Linked DNA regions of Homo sapiens: region 2 is linked to region 1. Evidence: promoter capture Hi-C in human tissues and cell types (Jung and others, 2019). All regions are on one chromosome and are shown on one strand. Each heading gives the region's core, a stretch centred on a gene start or on the middle of the fragment in contact. The rest is flanking DNA. Distances are from core to core; before and after follow the strand shown. Region 1 holds the start of SLC6A5 (solute carrier family 6 member 5). Region 2 overlaps ANO5 (anoctamin 5).

The links. The method cuts DNA at HindIII sites, captures the fragments that hold promoters and counts their contacts. A contact is called where the count stands out against the background at its distance.
Region 2: a contact is called between a fragment that was not itself captured here and the fragment with the promoter of SLC6A5 in region 1, in 1 of the 25 tissues and cell types used here (dorsolateral prefrontal cortex).

The regions. Positions count from the first base shown.
Region 1 is chr11:20,597,677-20,601,141 of GRCh38, reverse strand. It overlaps SLC6A5 (solute carrier family 6 member 5), which reads right to left and starts at 1,534. Exons shown (of 16, transcript NM_004211.5): 1 at 1,467-1,534; 2 at 1-13. The coding sequence starts at 1,469. The HindIII fragment of the contact is 4,309 bases long and covers 1-3,465 here.
Region 2 is chr11:22,239,717-22,243,181 of GRCh38, reverse strand. The region is part of intron 9 of ANO5 (anoctamin 5); the gene reads right to left. Among named protein-coding and RNA genes, the nearest start is that of ANO5, 48 kb to the right of the region's middle. The HindIII fragment of the contact is 4,063 bases long and covers 1-3,465 here.

The sequences.
Region 1 (3,465 bases), core at 285-2,784:
GAGCACTGCAATCCTGCAAACACAATGTCAAGTTCGTGCAAAACAAAGTCACAACAGCTTTTAAAATACCTGTATCTAGATATGGAGACGTTCGCAACTCAGGTCCAGACACAATATCTGGGGAAGCAAATTGGAATCTGAACTTTTTTTAAAAGAAAGGCTGCAATCAGTATTTCTCAATTTGCCCGTTTCATCAATAACCAGATGACAAAAAGAAGCTAATATTCCCTCCCTAGTGGAGGATGAACTAAGAAAAGAGGTAGAAATGTAATTTTGTAAGGGTAAAGGGGGAATGGAAATAGCCCTGGAGTCATGAGCTCCCCTCCCTCTTTGGATTCCACATCACAGCTGTGGGTGCCCGCATCCCCATCACCACTGTAGAAAGATTCTTTAATTTTCCGCCCCATTTCCTTTGTCATTCAACAATGCACACTGCCTTTTTCCCCCATAGACAAGCTGTGGCCACAAAGCTGATGCCCTGGCACCTGCGAGCGCTTGAGGCCAAATTGGTTGAGTCCCAGCGCTCCACAACCCACCTCCTCCCGCCAGGTAGCAAAGACAAGGTTAAGAATCACGATCAAAATAACCACAAAAAAACCTACAACGATAATAAACTAAATTTAAGACACAGAGTAGTAACTAGATTTGTTATCTTACACAACTCGTATTCACTTCCAGATTCCCAGACATGGAAAAGAATATGCAAAGCTTTTTGTTCTTTTGTTTAGGTCTTCTTCTTCTTCTTCTTCTTCTTCTTCTTCTTCTTCTTCTTCTTCTTCTTCTTCTTCTTCTTCTTCTTCTTCTTCCTCTTCTTCTTTTTTGCGTAACTATTCACAGGAGTCTAATATCCTTCACAACTCTAAGCTTGCTTGAGTACCAAAACTCATGACTAATTTTTATTCGCTTTTTCCCAATTCACTTTCAAATGAAAAGAACTGCCAGCGGTGGTTTTTCTATCCACTTTCTCCCCTCGTGTTATCTTTCACGGCTTCCTAAACATTAGCACCAATAATTATTATTACACTGTAAGAATAATCCTATTATCTTCGCCTCCACCGCACTCCTCTCGTCTAACCCCCTTTCACAAACACGCAGAATAGAACTCCTCGATTTGCACAAATCTAGGTACCTCGGCTTCAGCCAGCATTTGTCTCAGTAGCCTCTAGGACCCAGAGCAACTCGCCTCTGTACCGGCATCTGGCTTTTCAGCACCGAGGACAGTGCCCGGGATCGGGTCTTTAGGAGCCACAGCCAACCTCTCAGCTCTACAGCCTAGGAAACCTCTTTGCGACCTCAGGTGACGCTCACAAGTACAAATACCTAGGGCTGCGAGAATTGTTCTCCTCGTCGCCCCCTTTCCCCCCACCCAATGCACAGACATCTCCAAAAGAAATAGCCAAAACGAATCTGCTTTCCCTGTCCCCTCAGCCCCCTTTCCTCTTGAAAGAACAAAAGCAAACACTCACCATGTCTGACACAGGCAACAGACTGAACTGGTGGAGGGTGAAACCCGCTATTGACAAGACTGGGTTTGGCTCAGGCAGGAGAGGCGCTTTCTATATCTCCTTGGGAAAGGCCGGGTTTGCGTCAGTGCAAAGCAAGGTGCCCTTGGTTTGACATTTTCTTGATAATACAAGTTTGATAAATCATTACCCCCTTGGATTCAAGTTTTAAAGGGACAACAGCCTAGAGTATGCTGGCCAGTTGTCACTCCAGCGGGAGGGGGCTGCGTGTTTGGCGTGACTCATGTGGTCTGATTACTAAACCGAAACCGGCAGGAGGGGAAGACAGAAGTTTGCCTCCTCCTAATTAAGGGAAACATGGGAGGGACACGTCCCACTGCACCCAAGGCAAGGCGCAGCCGCCAACAGAGTGGATCGGGCTGTAGAGGAGGAAGGAGGGGGTTAAATCACTGTCTATTCTTTCCCTTTCACTAGATTCCATTGCTGTCCCCCCTTATCTTCAGGGATTCCGAAAATATTACTCCGAAAGAGGTTGAGGGTCTGCGCATAGCCCCACAGCTCTGCGATGACTGAAGCAGGCATGGGTCCTGCATTTATCAAGGTGTACCTACCTAGCATGTATGTGGACTTCAGATTCTCACATCCCTACCCTTCCAGACAGTCAGTCTTGGAGGAATCCTGGGGTTTTTGCTTAAAAATTGTGATCTGGTATTTCCGTTCCTATTTCTGTTATCACAATCAAGAGAAAATTCTGAGTATAACTGACCTTTTTCATTGTATTTTTAAGCTTTTCTGAAGACGTTTTAGAGAAAGAAAAACGAAGTTTTTCCAACACAGACCTAGTTCTTAGGTCACTTTCAAAGTCAAGGGAAACCCATTCTTTCTTTACAGTCCTTTCAATAAAATCCTACAAGAGCCAGGCCTGATTTGGCAGCGCGGGACCTTAGAGACCGTCCAAATCGGGATGCCCAGCAATGCGGGGGAGGGGGAATGAGAGCTGGCAATCTGCAAAGCCATGCCAGGATGTTCAACCGTACTGTGGCGGGGATGGGAGTGGGGGTGGCCATGGCGATAAAAAGATGGACTTTCTTGTTGTGTGTACAATGCAATAGCTATAATCAGAAGAGGAAAAAACGCCTTTACAAAGAAGGTGTAGTTTGGAGACTAGAAGGGGATTATCAGCAAAATGCTTCCCTTCTCTCCTTCCTTGCCGGTCTAGCTCGGGGAACCCCTGGCCTCGGGGATGAGGAGCCACAGACAGCACGTTTTCCCTTCCCTACTGCCAACAGCCCAGCCCACTGCCTCGGGGTGCGCGCCGTCGCCAGCGGCTGGGCCGTCCCACGCGGCGGGAGGACAATGCCGCGGCGGCCGCGGCCGCAGGCGTAGGCTGCAGTGGCAGATTGCGGCGGGCGCCGGGGGCACTAAGGGGCACCCTCCTGCTCCTCTGGAGAGCCCGAGAGTGTTTGGATGCCTCCGCTGGTTGGCTTTCCCGCCTAGCCCCTCTAAAGGGCAGCTGGCTGGGGACACACGGTCTGCATTGCCTTTGGTGGGGGCAGGAGGAGGAGATCTTTCTTTTGAGACGCCTTGAGGATTTCAGGTCGCTTTTTATTGCAGTTTTGAGCTAACGTCTATTGAGATCTCAATACTCAACCATTGTGCAAGGGATATCCATGAATTATCTCGGTTAGATTTAGCAATGGCCTTTCAGAAACTATACCAATTGCAAAGCTGAGGAAATTGGGGCTCAGAAAGTCGCTTTTGAACCCTGGAGAAGATCCCAACCACCTCCCGCCGGGCTGTCGCTAGGGTCAGTCGCTCTCTCCCCGGGGCCCGCTCGTAGGGAGAGGTCGGGAACGAGGGTTAAGAGGGTAGGGTGGGCTGTGGTGGACTCTGGCTGGAGGAGGGTCGTCTGAGTGGGTGGGACTGAGAATTCCGCAGGGGTGCCTGCTCAAGTTCCGGCTGGCGCTGAGAAGCACCCCGCAGGCTCTTGGCATCTTGGGGG
Region 2 (3,465 bases), core at 312-2,811, 1.6 Mb before region 1:
AACTATTAACATATGATCATCTCAATAAATGCAGAAAAAGCTTTTGATAAAATTCAGCATCCCTTTCCATTCATGATTAAAAAACCCTCAATAGTCTTGGTATTGAATGAACATACCTCAAAATAATAAGAGCCATCTATGATAAACCCACAACCAACATCATACTGAATGGGCAAAAGCTGGAATCATTCCCCTTGAGAAATGAAATAAAACAAAGATGCCCACTCTTACCACTCCTATTCAACATAGTGCTTAAGTCCTAGCCAGAGGAATCAGGCAAGAGAAAAAAAATAAAAGGCATCCAAATAGGACAAGAAGAAGTAAAGCTATCTCTCTTTGTTGCCAAATGATTCTACACCTAGAAAACCCTAAAGACTCCACCAAAAGTCTCCTAGATTTCATAAATGACAGATGAGAGAGTTCAGTAAAGTTTCAGGACCCAAAAGCAATGGACAAAAGTGAGTAGCTTTCTATATGGCAATAATGTTCAAGCTGAGAGTCAAATCAAGAACACAATCCCATTTTCAATAGCCACAAAAAATGAAATATCTAGGAATACAGCTAATCCAGGAGGTGAAAGATCTCTACAAGGAAAACTACAAAACACTGATGAAAGAAATCAGAGATGACACAAATAAATGGAACAACATTCCTTGTTCATGGATTGGAAGAATCAGTATCATTAAAATGGCCATACTGCCCAAAGCAATTTACAAATTCAATGTTATTCCTATCACACTACCAATGACATTTTTCACAGAATTAGAAAAAGCTATTCTAACATTAACATAGAACCATAAAAATGGCCAAATAGCCAAAGCAATCCTAACCAAAAAGAACACAACAAAGAACACAACTGGAAGCATCACACTACCTGGCTTCAAACTATGCTATAAGGCTATGGTAAGCAAAACAGCATGGTACTGGTAAGACACATAGACCAATGGAACTAAACAGAGAAAGCAGAAATGAAGCTGCACACCTCCCACCATCTGGTCTTCAACAAAGCTGATGAAAACAAGCAATGGGGAACGGATTCCGTATTCAATAAATGGTGCTGGGATAACTGACTAGCAATATACAGAAGAATAAAACTTGGACCCTTATCTTTCACCATATAGAAAAATAACTAAAGATGGAATAAAGTTTTAAATGTAAGACCTCAAACTATAAAAATCCTAGAAGAAAACCTAAGAAGTATCTTTCTCTACATCGGCCTGGGTAAATAATTTTTGGCTAAGTCACCAAAAGCAATTGCAACATCAAAAAATAATTGACAAGTGGGACCTAATTAAACTAAAGAGCTTCTGCACAGCAAAAGAAAGTATCAATAGAGTAGACAATCTACAGTATAGGGGAAAACATTCACAAACTACACATCCAACAAAGGTCTAATATCCAGAATCTATGAGGAACTCAAACAAGTCAACAAGCAGTATCCAAATAACCCCAATAAATAATTGGCAAAGGACATGAAGAGACACTTCTCAAAATACATACAAGCAGCCAACAAACATATGAAAAAATGCTCATCATCACTAATCCAGAGAAATGCAAATCAAAACCGCAATCAGATAACATCTCATACCAGTCAGAATGGCTATGATTAAAAAGTCAAGAAATATCAGATGGTGGTGAGATTTGGGAGAAAAGAGAACATTTATACACCGTTGATGGGAATGAAAATTAATTCAGCTGCTGTGGAAAACAGTTTGGAGCTTCTGCAAAGAACTTAAAACAGAGCTGCCATTTGACCCAACAATCTCATTACTGGGCATATGCTCAAAGCAATATAAATTGTTCTACCAAAAAGATGCACGCACCTATATGTCCATTGCAGCACTATTCACAATAGCAAAGACATGGTATCAACCTGGGTGACCATTAATGGTGGAGCAGATAAATAAAACGTGGTATATATAAACCACTTGTAAGTGGGAACTAAATATTGAATACACATAGACATAAGGATGACTACGATATACACTAGAGGAGGTAGTGTGGGAGAGGGGTGTGGGTTAAAAAACTCCCTATTTGTTACTATGCTCACTACTTGGGTGGCAGGATCTGCACCCCAAACCTCAGCATCGTGCAATATACCCACACAAAAAACATGCATGTATACCACTGAATCTAAAATTAAAAAGTTGAAATTATATAAAAAAATTGGGACAGCCTAATGTTTTTCAATAGAAAAACAAATAAATGAATTATGAAAAATTTATAATAAGGCATTCTGTGTTCCACTAAATAGTATCAGATAGATCTTTGTGTATTCATAGAAGGACATCAGTAATATACTATTTAGTGAATAAAGAAAAATATTAGCATGAAAGAGAAGAGAAAGATGCCATTGCTCTCAGAAAAAAAAATGTTTCTGCTTTTTTATGCAGGAACACAAAAATAGGACTAAATCAATATTATCCAAATCAAGCCTAGTTATTTTTGTGGAGTTTGATGAAGGTAGAATTTCACTTAAAACTTTGTTCATCTCTTAATTATTTGAAATGTTTTTGATAAATATTCTGGTTTTATAACTTAAAGTATTAAATGATTATTATTCAAAACAGTTAAAATAGCCATTCAAGAAAGAGTTTGCATGATTTATCAAAAGCCCCAGTTTATAAACTGACTAAGTGACATTAATTTTCCAAAATGTGTCCTCTAGTTTGACTTAAACATACTGTTGAGATAACATTTCAGTTGATTTGGATGGATCCATTCAAATCAGTCTCATGAAACAGATACTGTGATGCTGTGTAAGCATAGCAATGCAAGTATAAATCATCAAGGAAAAAACACTGCCTATAGTAGCAAGAGATCTCTAATCTAATAGTTCATTGAATAAAATCATATGTCTCCTAATATCTTGTATGCTTGTAGTATTGCTATGCTTTAAAGTGATAACCTGCAACCATAGTCTTCTTGCTTAGCTAATGAAACTATCTAAAGGATTGAGGTCATAGAACAAATGTCTTCACAGCTCACTGAGAGCACACACACACAAACATCCATACACAACCTTTGTCTTATGTTCCAAATTTCTGGACTCCAAGAGAAACAAAAACTAATATGTATTAAACACTAAGTGTTAGCCCCTATGCTAAAAAGTAGTAATATTGCTATTCCCGTTTTACAGATAGTATAGATATTATAACTAATGTGCTAAAAAGTAGTAATATTGTTATATCTATTTTCATAATGGTTAAGTAACTTGACCAAATTTATATAGCTTTCAAGAGACAGAACTTGGATTGGAATTCAGCCTAGCTAAATGCTAAGGTCTAACCTCCTAACCACCATACTATCGCTGTTGTCTTTCATCAGTTTAGCAACAACATTCTCCTAAATGAATTGCTAATTTATAGTGTAGATATGAAATCAAGAAGTTGTGAAATGTAGTGGGAGAAAATAGTAGTAAAAAAAATATTATGCCATTGTGAATAAAAATCACATTATCAAGTT